3 separate regions of the Homo sapiens genome follow, and all the other regions are linked to region 2. Evidence: promoter capture Hi-C in 16 types of primary human blood cells and fetal thymus (Javierre and others, 2016). All regions are on one chromosome and are shown on one strand. The core of a region is centred on a gene start or on the middle of the fragment in contact, and the rest is flanking DNA. Distances in the headings are between cores, read along the strand shown. Region 1 overlaps HEATR5A (HEAT repeat containing 5A). Region 2 holds the start of CFL2 (cofilin 2). Region 3 overlaps STRN3 (striatin 3).

What was found. Contacts are between HindIII fragments. The CHiCAGO score rates a contact against its expected background, and 5 or more counts as called.
Region 1: a contact is called between a fragment that was not itself captured here and the fragment with the promoter of CFL2 in region 2, in 1 of 17 cell types (M0 macrophages). The highest score is 5.4, in M0 macrophages.
Region 3: a contact is called between a fragment that was not itself captured here and the fragment with the promoter of CFL2 in region 2, in 1 of 17 cell types (total B cells). The highest score is 5.2, in total B cells.

Annotation. Positions count from the first base shown.
Region 1 is chr14:31,378,662-31,382,530 of GRCh38, forward strand. It overlaps HEATR5A (HEAT repeat containing 5A), which reads right to left. Exons shown (of 36, transcript NM_015473.4): 11 at 1,806-1,917. Among named protein-coding and RNA genes, the nearest start is that of HEATR5A, 40 kb to the right of the region's middle. The HindIII fragment of the contact is 5,231 bases long and covers 1-3,869 here.
Region 2 is chr14:34,711,438-34,715,947 of GRCh38, forward strand. CFL2 (cofilin 2) reads right to left here and starts at 3,156. Exons shown (of 4, transcript NM_138638.5): 1 at 3,101-3,156; 2 at 1,817-2,124; 3 at 1,623-1,699; 4 at 1-1,540. The coding sequence starts at 3,103. The coding sequence ends at 1,428. RefSeq lists silencers at 2,853-2,912, 3,003-3,592. The HindIII fragment of the contact is 2,283 bases long and covers 2,643-4,510 here.
Region 3 is chr14:30,987,522-30,991,507 of GRCh38, forward strand. All of the region lies in intron 1 of STRN3 (striatin 3), which reads right to left. Among named protein-coding and RNA genes, the nearest start is that of MIR624, 25 kb to the right of the region's middle. The HindIII fragment of the contact is 2,806 bases long and covers 1,224-3,986 here.

The sequences.
Region 1 (3,869 bases), core at 809-3,308, 3.3 Mb before region 2:
CCTGTAGTCCCAGCTACTCGGGAGGCTGAGGCAGGAGAATGGCATGAACCCAGGAGGTAGAGCTTGCAGTGAGCCGAGATCGCGCCACTGCACTCCAGCCTGGGTGACAAAGTGAGACTCCACCTCAAAAAAAAACAAACAAAAAAAAAAAACACTACTTAAAGTAGTTCTTCATTTATGATTGTTTATTCTAATTTAAGCTCCTTTAGGTCAAATTACTTTATAGGTGTCAAAATGATTTATCGGCCAAATCAGGTCAGTTGCTTTATTTTATTATTATTTTTTATTTTTATTTTTTGAGACGGAGTCTTGTTCTGTCACCCAGGCTGGAGTGCAGTGGCATGATCTCAGCTCACTGCAACCTCTGCCTCCTGGGTTCAAGCAATTCTCCTGCCTCAGCCTCCCCTGTAGCTGGGACTACAGGCACATGCCACCATGTCTGGCTAATTTTTGTATTTTTTTTAGTAGAAGCAAGATTTCACCGTGTTGTTGGCCAGGCTGGTCTTGAACTCCTGACCTCAGATGATCCGCCCGCCTAGGCCTCCCAAAGTGCTAGGATTACGGCGTGAGCCACTGCGCCCGAACTATTCATTTTTTGTTTTATTTTGAGAGGGAGTCTTGCTCTGTCACCCAAGCTGGAGTGCAGTGGTGCAATCTCACTTCACTGCAACCTCCACCTCCTGGGTTCAAGCAATTCTCCTGCCTCAGCTTCCCGAGTAGCTGGGACTACAGGCATGCACCACCATGCCCGGCTAATTTTTGTATTTTAGTAGAGATGGGGTTTCACCTTGTTGGCCAGGCTGATCTTGAACTCCTGACCTCAAGTGATCCACCCGCCTCAGCCTCCCAAAGTGCGGGGATTACAAGCGTGAGCCACCATGCCCAGCCTCAGCCAGTTGTTTTATATCTAGCTATAACTTGTATGACAACAGAGACTTAAAATATAGGTGTGATAGAGTAATAAAATTAAGTTTCATTAGCACCATAAGACTGGGCAAAAAATAAATAAATAAAGTTTTCAGTGGCTCATGCTTATAATGCCAACACTTTGGGAGGCCAAGGCGGAAGGACTGCTTGAGCCCACAAGTTCGAGACGAGCCTGGGCAACATAGTGAGACCCCATCTCTACAAAAAAAATTTTTTTAAATTAGCCAGGCATGATGTTGCATGCCTATGGTCCCAGCTACTTGGGAGGCTTAGGTAGGAGGATCACTTGGGCCCAGGAGGTCAAGGCTGCAGTGAGCCATGATCATGCCACTGCACTCCAGCTCGTGTGACAGAGTGAGACCCTGTCTCAAAAATTTAGAGGATATAAATAGTCATGACTGTAAAACAATTACTGTTTTTTAATAAATATAATTTAAGTAAAATTCATCCCCTTCAATGTAGCAACCTTATTGGCTGTTATGAATCCTCAAACAATTATAGAACTGGATTCCCAAGCTATGGGTATGTTCTTTTGCCTATATTGTGGAAATGTTTTTTTCTGAAGATGGATGTCAATGATTTTTGAAAAAGCCACAGTTGTTCAGAGTTAAGCCTGAAAGATGATTAGTAACTCGGCTTATCCTACTTGAGGCTTATCATCTAGCCCGGAAGAGAAAATCAAGAGAGATCTCAAAAGGTTTTAAGCAATGACGAAAGTAAAAGGCTTTTTAAGGTGACTACTACAAGAAAAATGTTTGTGTGGCTATTTAAATTCTGGTATGTATTAAAAGTTCATTTCATCAAATCACATATAAGAATCATTTCACTCAGAAAACACAAAGTATTTCAAGGTATGTAAACCTTCTACAGACTGTTACCTAATGTCATCAGAGCAGAAATCAGCAACCATCCAGCTTGTGTGCGCTGAGCTGAAAGGCGACTGTTTTGAGCAGCAGAACACAGCAAATCCTCTGCTAATGTCATAATAATCTATTTACATATAGAACAAGTTTTAAAAAAAGCATATCAGTTTATAAATTACTAAATGATAGCAGCTAACAATATCTTGAAAAATTAATTCTTACATAAAATAAATGTAAACGATAAAGAACTGTCATTCGTGTAGACTACATAATAGGACTGTCATAAAGGAAACTATAAAAAATTAAGTTTTCAAGGTTAAATACTGGTATATGAGGTAGTACACAACAATCCCATAATTTTTTGTAGAACACATGTGACAACAATGTAAGATTATTCAAGTATAGCTGTATAGAATTTGAATTTACTTTTAGTTTTGAGCAACTATCCTTTTAAATCCATAATTATCCAAAAAAAGTTTTCTTACAGGAGTCTCTCTCTTAAAAATGCTACATACAGCCAGGTGCGGTGGCTCACGCCTGTAATCCCAGCACTTTGGGAGGCTGAGGCGGGTGGATCACAAAGTCAGGAGATCGAGACCATCCTGGCTAGCACAGTGAAACCCCATCTCTACTAAAAATACAAAAAATTAGCCGGGCGTGGTGGCACATGCCTGTAGTCCCAGCTACTCGGGAGGCTGAGGCAGAAGAATCGCTTGAACCCAGGAGGCAGAGGTTGTAGTGAGCTGAGATTATGCCACTGAAACTCCAGCCTGGGCAACAGAGTGAGACTCAGTCTCAACAACAAAAAAAAGCTACATACTACTTTTGTAACTCAGTAGCTGATAATAGTCTTCCAAGAGGTAGTATACTATAGTGGTTAGAGGTAGTCAAAATAGTCTCATACTGAAGAGTGAAATTTATTAAAATGTTATAGTAAAAAAGTCTATGAGGCTGGGCACAGTGGCTCATGCCTGTAATCCCAACGACTCAGAAGGCCAAGGTGGGAGGACCAATTGAGGCCAGAAATTCAAGACCAGCCTAGGAGTGAGCTAGGATCACACCACTGCATTGCAGCCTGGGCAATAAAGAAAGACCATGTCTCCTTGGAAAAAAAAAAAAAAAAAAAAAAAGGACCAGCCTGGGCAACAGAGTGAGATCCTATCTTCACAAAAAAATAAAAAGAATTAGCCAGGCAATGGAATTACGTGCCTGTAGTTTCAGCCACTTGGGAGGCTGAGACGGGAAGATTGCTTGAGCCCTGGCATTTGAGGCTGCAGTGATCTATGATCTCGCCACTGCACTCTGGCCTAGGTGACAAAGCAAGACCCTGTTTCAAAAAAAGGGGTCCATGTTATAAAACAACAGAGAAGAAAAACAGGACATTTCACATTTATGGATAATGTATGCTTACACAGTACAAGGCCAGAGAGCATCTAATATGAGAAAACACCTATTACCAATCACCTCTGAAAAAGCAGGAAGTATTATGAGTTGGCATATAAATTTTCTAAAGAAGAAGGCTAGTGTATTTTAAACCAACCAACCAACTTACTACTAATTTAGGACTCCCTGCAGCTCATACAGTCAATGGATAGCACTCAAAAAGAGTGAGGACAAAACAAACCATTCTAGTCAAATCAGAACAAGTGGATAATTCTCTCGGAAAGAAATTCCAAATATAATATGGGAATGGGAACCTTGTCTGAATTAATGAGATATGAGAATAGGTTTAATTAAATACATTGAATGACAAGTCTTTGCTTAGCAAGATGTGATGTGTTAAGAATATAACTAAAATAATAAATTTAAATAATCTCATCTTCCAAAGTTGTCACCTACCTTATTTCAGTGGCATTGGCAATACTCAAAATATTTTTGGAATTGTTCAAGTTATGGAATGGTCTTCTGCAGAGCCTACACTATGGTGGATATACTATCAAACTCCATAATGACACAGGAGTGGCAATGAGAAAGAAAGGAATAATGGTGTATTTTTTTAAATATATTTACGAGTTTGTGAGAAGTATGGGTTAGAAGGGCTTTCACTGTCAAATAATGTTCTCTGACAACTTACAATTC
Region 2 (4,510 bases), core at 1,906-4,405:
AGCCAAATCCCACTACTAATGTTTAAGACTGCTATTATCAATTCCTATTCCAATTCAATTTGCAAAATATATTCAGAAATAGTAGGTGAAATGACTGTTCCGAAACATCAGAAGTATCATTAAACTTTTAAAGGACATTTTACAAATTATTTTCATTACGACCAAATAAGCAATAAGAGCTTCCTGCTTCTACTATACAACTACTTAGAAATGTAAATGTGAATAAAAAAATAACTATGCTAATTTATCCAGAGAACAAATCAGATATTGAAAAGTATTTATGCCAAAGTGCAAAAAATAATTTCTGATCTTCATATTAACACATAGGAAATAAATACACTAATGTTTATAAAAGTACCATTCTTTAACAATGGTATTTTATATTAGTTGGCCTTAAGATAGAATACTTTTTAAACCAAATAGATCCAACAAATCTGGAAAATATCACACATGAATGCTGTACAAAAAAAATTCTCAAATGACCAGTGCAGAGATTAGTAATAGCTGTTTTTACCCTAGAAGTTGTTTCACATAACATTTTGCAAAATTTCCAAGGAAAACAAGGCAACGTTCTGTAATATGCCACAATTTTTATTGCAACGTGGCCATTTTTGTGAGGGTGGGGAGTTTGATCTCAAAACAATGTTCCATTTAAGGCTCTTTTATACAGAAATTGCCATCATGACTGATATTCAAAATATCTTTAGTGTTGCAGGACTCACATGGTAAACATAAAACTCCTACACTTATTCAGTAGTGTACACTCAATGGAAAACAAAAAGGCATTAATAACAGCTATTTCTTTTAAGAAGATATGCAGGTAACAGGAATGAACACTGAGGTACTAGGATAAGTTGATGACACAGTTAACAAAACTTAATTGGCATTCCTTTTAGGATATTAAACTTATTACAAAAAGTGCTTTTAATGCATAGTGTTATATCCGTGCTGCCATATCACTAAAATAGGCTTGCCAAGGCAGGTGAGGTGTATGAATGCTCAAGCCTCACAGAACTGCAATCAAGTGCCAACTATAAATAATACTGAAAAAAGTTGACCATCTGACCAGTGGATAATACTTTCAAGGCATTCAATTAGCTTATCCTTTGCAGTATTCTAAGCTATTCACATTGACGATCACATACATTGTAGTGCTTGCTGCAAGGGAGGCATATAACCAGTTGTTTTGGCTAAAATATGACAGGAAGGCATTCCTTGGGTTCTATATAAAAGTAACAGTATTCAACAGTCTAATGGCAATCACTGATAGGCTGCTTAAATAAATGATATTTCCTTCATTCATTGTGTTGGAAGGGCCCAGTGGAAAGGGGGAAATACAACAAAAAACCAAAACCTAATACTATTCCAATGGACTGAGCTGGAGAAATGGAAGCTCCTTAAGATCCAGATGGCACTTGACTGTCATTTTATAATGGTTTTCCTTCAAGTGAAACTACTACATTGCCTCCCAATTTCTCTCCAAGTGTCGAACGGTCCTTAATATCATCCAAGCCATTTACTTGCCACTCATGTTTAATACCTAAAAAGAAAAAACATTATCCTATTACTTTATTATAATTAATAAAGAATAATTTCTCTGCCCCAAATATTCAAGTTTGTACCTGTAAATTTCTTTTTAATGGCATCTTTAGAGCTAGCATAAATCATCTTGCTTTTTAAAGGTGCACTTTCAGGAGCCCTACAGAAAAAAAAAAAATTATTGAATCCCATTTATAAGAAAAACAAAGGTAAGACTGACTATGATAATAATAATCCTTGCATTTTAAAAGTACTTTTTTCTTTTGTTTTTACACACCAGAATATAAATACTAGGTCTTCTTTCTTAGACTCTTTTGTTTCGTATGTGGCATCGTACAAAGCATATCGGCAATCATTCAGAGGTAGCAACTTCACAAAAGATGTGTAGGGGTCCTCTACAGTATCACCAATGTCACCCACCAAGATCTGCTTTGCTTCCTCTACAATTATTTGTCTTTTGTCATCGCTTAAACAGAAGAGAACTGCTTTCTTTCTCTTTTTGATCTCCTCTTGTGTAGAAGATTTCCTTACTTTCATATCATTAAAAACTTTGATGACTTCATCATTCACTGTAACTCCAGAAGCCTGAAAATAAACACAGAACAGTAATTCAGAACACGTATTTTGGTTTTAACCAAAATTACTGTTTGCCTAGAGAAGACTCACTTTAGTCTGGACATCAAAAATTGCACCGTACCATGTAAGTCGTCCAATCAGATTTGTCACATTTTAAGAATCAGTAGACGATACAGCGAAGGAGTCTAACTCATCCTGCCCATTCATCCTTCTTAAAGGGGTTTGGACGTGGAAGCGAAAGGGACAAATACAAGTTGTCCCATCCCTGAAATGTTTCCTATTTCACTGGGTGATGTCAGAGCTTCAGGAGTGGCAGCAAAAATACCTTCTGTATTGTGTCAACTCGGCTGGCCTTAAAAAAACACTTTTGGATTTCAGTTAATGCTTCTACTATTTTTTTCTTTAAAGTCATCCTAGCCACTGACGTTTCCTCATAAGGAAAGAGAATCAAGTGTAAACTCCAAACCGCCCACGGCCCACACACAGCTCACATGCAGACACTCCAAAACTAACTGATCGAGTGTAAAAGCTTTTACGGCGAGAAAGCATTTTAAAAAGTGTTTTCCCTCTTCCTTAATCTCCCCGTAAGGGTTTTATTACAGGCCGTCCAGACCCTGACCCACACAGCGTTCGCAGCACGTACCAATTTTAAAGCCTCGCGTGTTAAGTAAAATTAGGAAGCGAAGGGCAAAGGCGGCGCGAGCGGCTGCAGTCCGCAGACCCTCTCGCGCCCCCGCCCGCCCGGCCCCGACCCCCAACCTGCGCCGACGCCCGGGCCCTCCCCGCCCCCCAAAATCCAAAGAGCAGCAGGGCAGGGCCTGACGGCCGGAGGGCAGGCCGGTCGGCTGGAGAGCAGCGGAGCCGCAGAGCAGAAGCGCCCACCTTGGAGGCCAAAATCAGGTTAAAATGGCGGCCTCACTCCCGGGGCCGTGCGGGGGGCTTTTCTCGCCTCGCCGCGGCCTCCCGGCCAGCGCGCTCGTCTTACCATAGTGCCCTCGGCTGTGGCTGCGGCGGCAGCTCGGGCTTCGGCTCTGTGGCACTGGGAGGAGAAGGAGGGGCGGGCGAGCGGGTGGGCAGCGGAGAGTGCGGGGCACGCCGGGAGCTGCAGCCCGAGGGAGGTGGCGGGGCTCGGCGGGCCGCAGGCAGCGGGCGGGGCGGTCACGTGGGCACGCCTGGTCCCCAGCCGGCGCCACCCGCTCCCAGGCCGGCCCTTCTGTCTCGCGGCCCCGGCTCCCCGGCTGTCCGCGTCCTCGGCCTGACCTCAGAGCGCGAGCCCTGCAGGCCGGGGGGGGCGACGCGGTGGTAGCGGAGCCCGGGAGCCTGGCAGAGCCGCCTCCAGCCCCCGAGCATCACCCGTCAAGCCGGTGGGAGAGAGTGCTGGGCTCCCAGAGGGGCGTTTCCACCGCCTCCGTAGGGCCCTGCGCCAGGGGTGGGTGCGTGTGAGGGGAACTCCTGCGAAGGTGTCTTTCCTTATTTACCTGTGGTTTTCCCGAAAGAGGCTGGATTTCGACATTTTGAGTCTTTTTGGAAAACCCCCAGTTGTTTAGAGATAAATGAGAATAAATACTACACGAGATTGCTCCAGTTGATAGTACTTAGCAAAAACAAAATGATACGCAGTGTTGGTAAATCACTTTTCAAAACTCTGGTTGAAATAATAATTATGATTAAAAAATTACGTGGTAGCATTCCTTAGTAATATCCTTTTACATTTTAGACTTCATAGGAAATGGATTGTACTCTCTCTTAGAGATTTCATGAAGCTCCAGCTATGACAGCTGATATCAAATAAGCCGACGCAGCCTCTTCTAGCAAAGCCCATATAACTGCGCCAAGGCAGTTTCTCTTTTTTTAATCTTAACTCCTCCATACCTCAGGGTTCTTCATGTGTAAAACAAACTGTTATTAAATTATCGTTAAGGCCCTTTCCAGCTTTAGATTTCAGTTTCTGAGTATATCAATGTTCAGTAGGAAATGGTGTGTTTTTGGTGGTCTCAGGATTGAGGTTAGGCAGGAAAGTCATGAGATGGTGTTTGCCCTAGATTGCGTGATAAGTTCTTTCAGCCCAAATTTACTGTATTTTAAATGGAACATGCTAGGCATTGAAACAGACCTATTTTTCTGTCTATATCTTGGGTTTGTTTTCTTAATTGGAAGATAGACTTCGTTTAGAGACAAAAATTGAGAAGGGATTTCCCAATGTCTAAGCATGAATCCCAAGCAAGTGGATAATACTTTATATCTAGCTGGTACATTACAATTTATGGAACCTTTCACTTTATCTGTTGAACTTCCAAGAAGTCATGGAGAATGTCTCTCCAGAGCTCTGATCATCTGCTATGTGTAGGTATTAGCAAATTCCTGTTCGCTTCATCTTGCGGTTACCTTCCCTTCC
Region 3 (3,986 bases), core at 1,377-3,876, 3.7 Mb before region 2:
AAAAAAAAACATAAAATAAAATTTAAGCTGAGGCTAGAGAAATACGTCACAACCAGGCCATGTAGGACCTTGAGGTTCATATTAGAAATTTGGAGGAGCCATGGTAGCTTAAAAAGTAAAACAATAAAATAATCAATATTTGCATTCCAGAAAGATTATTCTGACTACTCGCTGTGATTCTGCCCACAATATTTTCTTACATTCAATCAGTTGAATATAATTTTTTTTTTTTTTGAGACAGACTCTCGTTCTGTTGCCCAGGCTGGAGTGCAGTGGCGCGCGGTCTTGGTACTGCAACCTCTGCCTCCCGGGTTCAAGCAATTCTCCTGCCTCAGCCTCCCAAGTAGCTGGGATTACAGGTGTGTGCCACCATGCCCAGCTAATTTTTGTATTTTTAGTAGAGACGGGGTTTCACCATGTTGGTCAGGCTGGTCTTGAACTCCTGACCTTGTGAATCGCCCGCCTAGGCCTCCCAACGTGCTGGGACTACAGGCGTAAGCCACCGCGTCCAGCTGTTTTTCTCACTTCTTGCAGTGCTTTCTTCCAAATGTCTTGTATATTAAAGCAAGTTTTACATTCCTTCACTGGACTGTGAGCCCTGAACAGAAGCCAAGTCTTCCATTATTCCAAACATTCAATAAATGTTTATTATACTGAACAAGACTAACACTGATTTGACATATTAAAAAACAATGTCCAAGATGCTCAGCTAGGTCCTGTGACACGAGCAGCACTTTGGCCTCATAAGCAAATCCTAAAAGGTATTATCAACCAAACTCTGACCCTTATACTCAAACTAAAATTAATAAACAAAAAGCTGTTCCAGGTATTAACTTTTCTAAGCTTATCTCTTTATGCCCCTTTCTGCTAGCACCACAACCTATTTTTATTTGTTATTTACCTTTCTTAATTTTACCAAATATATTTACTCAACGAACATATACAATACAAAGTAGAAATCTGCTGAGCCCAACTACAACAAAATTAAAGCATATCAATGAATGGAGATGAAACAGCAAAACTTGGTTGGAATGCAAATTTATTCCTTAAAATCTGAACATTTAAAAAGAGAAAGAGAATAATTAATAAAGAAAATGAAGTCATGGTACAATTATAAAGCAGGTCCTCTCACTTTTCTCTGACAAAGTTTTGAATGACTCATCTACTGTCCTAACAGGCTATTTTCAAGGTTCTCTCCATTCTACCATTATCCTACATTTTCAAGCTTATTTTTCATCATTCCTCTGTACTCTACCACAAGTGAAACATGCAACATTCCTCAAAAAAGACCTTGCACTTTACAGCCATCCAACTTTTGTTCACACTATTTATACCACAGGAAGTGAATATTCCAGCTCTATAATCTCCACTTCCAATAATGAATTATAATTATTTTACAAATTAGGCAACTAAGCCACCCCCTCTGGAAGTAAAGTGTCTTGCTCACGGACACTGTCTTGGCTAGTAAGATAGAAGAATCAGGACAGTAGATCTCAAGTCTACTGGCTTCCCAGGGTCCAATGCCTTCACTACCCCAGGTAGATTCTTAACCTTCAAAAATAAAAAGACTCATATGAAAAGGAATTTGAATCATCCACAGAAAGTAGTCTGGTCAAGTTCAAGATAAAGAGAGGGGTCAGTTACCTTATTCTTTGGCCCACTAAGCAATCACTTAAAGACCCCTGTTCTAGTAACCTGCCCAGCCTGGACCCTGCCACAAACAGATTCTGACTACCTTCTTCACCGTGAACTTCCTCTATCTTCACAGCAATGGCACCCATACCTGGAAGAGATGGCTTGCTGTTATATACCTAGGCCTGACTTCAAAAGCCTTCCTCTTCATGGCAGCCCAATGATATAGTGACTATTTCTCCAAAGGTAGTAGATTGGGAGGTAGCGAGACAGCAGCAACAAAACAGTCATTTAAACACAGGATTTTTATTTATTTATTTATTTTGAGATGGAGTCTGGCTCTGTCGCCCAGGCTGGAGTGCAGTGGCGCAATCTCAACTCACTGCAAGCTCCACCTCCCAGATTCACGCCATTCTCCTGCCTCAGCCTCCCGAGTAGCTGGGACTACAGGTGCCCGCCACCTCGCCTGGCTAATTTTTTTGTATTTTTAGAGATGGGGTTTCACTGTGTTAGCCAGGATGGTCTCTATCTCCTGACCTCGTGATCCATCCGCCTCAGCCTCCCAAAGTGCTGGGATTACAGGCGTGAGCCACCGCGCCCGGACAAAACACAGGATTTATAGCCAGACGGTAGGAGATTCCAATGCATAATTCCAACCCTAACACATACTAACTCATGTGACCCTGGGCAAATTAATTACCTCAGTTTCCATATCTATGAAATGGGATGATTAATATGAATTGTCTGTCATCAGTTATTGAAAGACTCACAATGGTGACAATGAAGACTAAATCAAAAAAATGGAAGGCTCAGATACTTTAAGAGCATGTGTGTCATTTCAATTCAGAAATGTGGAATGGGACAGAACAAGAGGCTATAAACTCAGGAAAGAGGGACTCCTATACACATTTCCTGAAAAAATCCCTGGGCCTAATGACTCAAGGAGTTAAAGAGAAGTAACAGTAAACCAGAGTGGCAAGAGTGTTCTAGCAGTCTTCTGAGGGCACTATGACTTTTTTTTTTTTTTGAGATGGAGTATCACTCTGTTACCCAGGCTGGAGTACAGTGGCGCAATCTCGGCTCACTGCAAGCTCTGCCTCTCGGGTTCATGCCATTCTCCTGCCTCAGCCTCCCAAGTAGCTGGGACTATAGGTGCCCGCCACCAGCACACCCGGCTAATTTTTTTTTGCATTTTTAGTAGAGACGGGGTTTCACCGTATTAGCCAGGATGGTCTCGATCTCCTGATCTCATGATCCGCCCGCCTCAGACTCCCAAAGTGCTGGGATTACAGGCCTGAGCCACCGCGCCCGGCCAAAGGGCACTATGACTTTTAAGAGATGGCATGTACTTGATATGCAAAAGGGGAGACAGGTTCCTTAACTTATAATGAAGACCACAGAATTTAGGGTGTATATGAGTGCCAAAAAATGTGACCATGACTTGTCTCCCTAAAGCTGACACAGCACAGATTTCATCTGTTAAAATACAGTTGGCCCTCACTATCTGTGAGGGAGCGGTTTCAGGACCCTCCTAGGATACCAAAACGCAGAGATGCTCAAGCCCTTTATATAAAATGGTGTAGTATTTGCATATAACCTATGCATATCCTCCCATATACTTTAAATTATCTCTTGATTACTTTAAATACCTAATACAATGTAGGTGCATGTAAATAGTTGTTATATTATACTGTTTAGGGAATAATGACAAAGAAAAAAGTCTGTACATGTGCAGTACAGATGCAACAGTCCTTTCTTTTCCTTGAATATTTATGATTCACAGCTGGTTGAACTCAAGGATGTGGAACCCACAGATACAGAGGGGCAGCTGTACCAGAAAAGGAAGGAATTAAGACATAGCATTAACATCATCACAGCTTACTCTTGACTAATATGAGAAAGAGAAGATACAGTCTAATCATTAGCTGCTTCAGAAACAGGCCAGCAGTATTTCTAGGTTTTATTTTCAGCTTGGTTTTGACCAGGTATGATCATACCATTTGGTTTGAAGTTCCTACTATTAAGAGGTCATGTGGAGTAGGGCAAGGTATGAGGTAACCTATTTCTCCTCCATTAGATTTGAAGTTACCTGAATAAAAGAACTTATGTTCAACTCTGTATCACACAGAGTTCCTTCAACCTATGAGAAACACAAATTTGTTGAAATAATATGAGTACTAGTATTCATTCTTTCATTCTGGGGTACAATCATACATAGGGCAATACAATCCCTACCCTCACAGAGATTACAGCCTACTGTTAAAGATAAAGTAAATAGGACAGGCATCTGTAATGCAGGTTAATAAATATTATAATAATGGAAGTTCATCACATAGGAGGAATACCTCATTTAC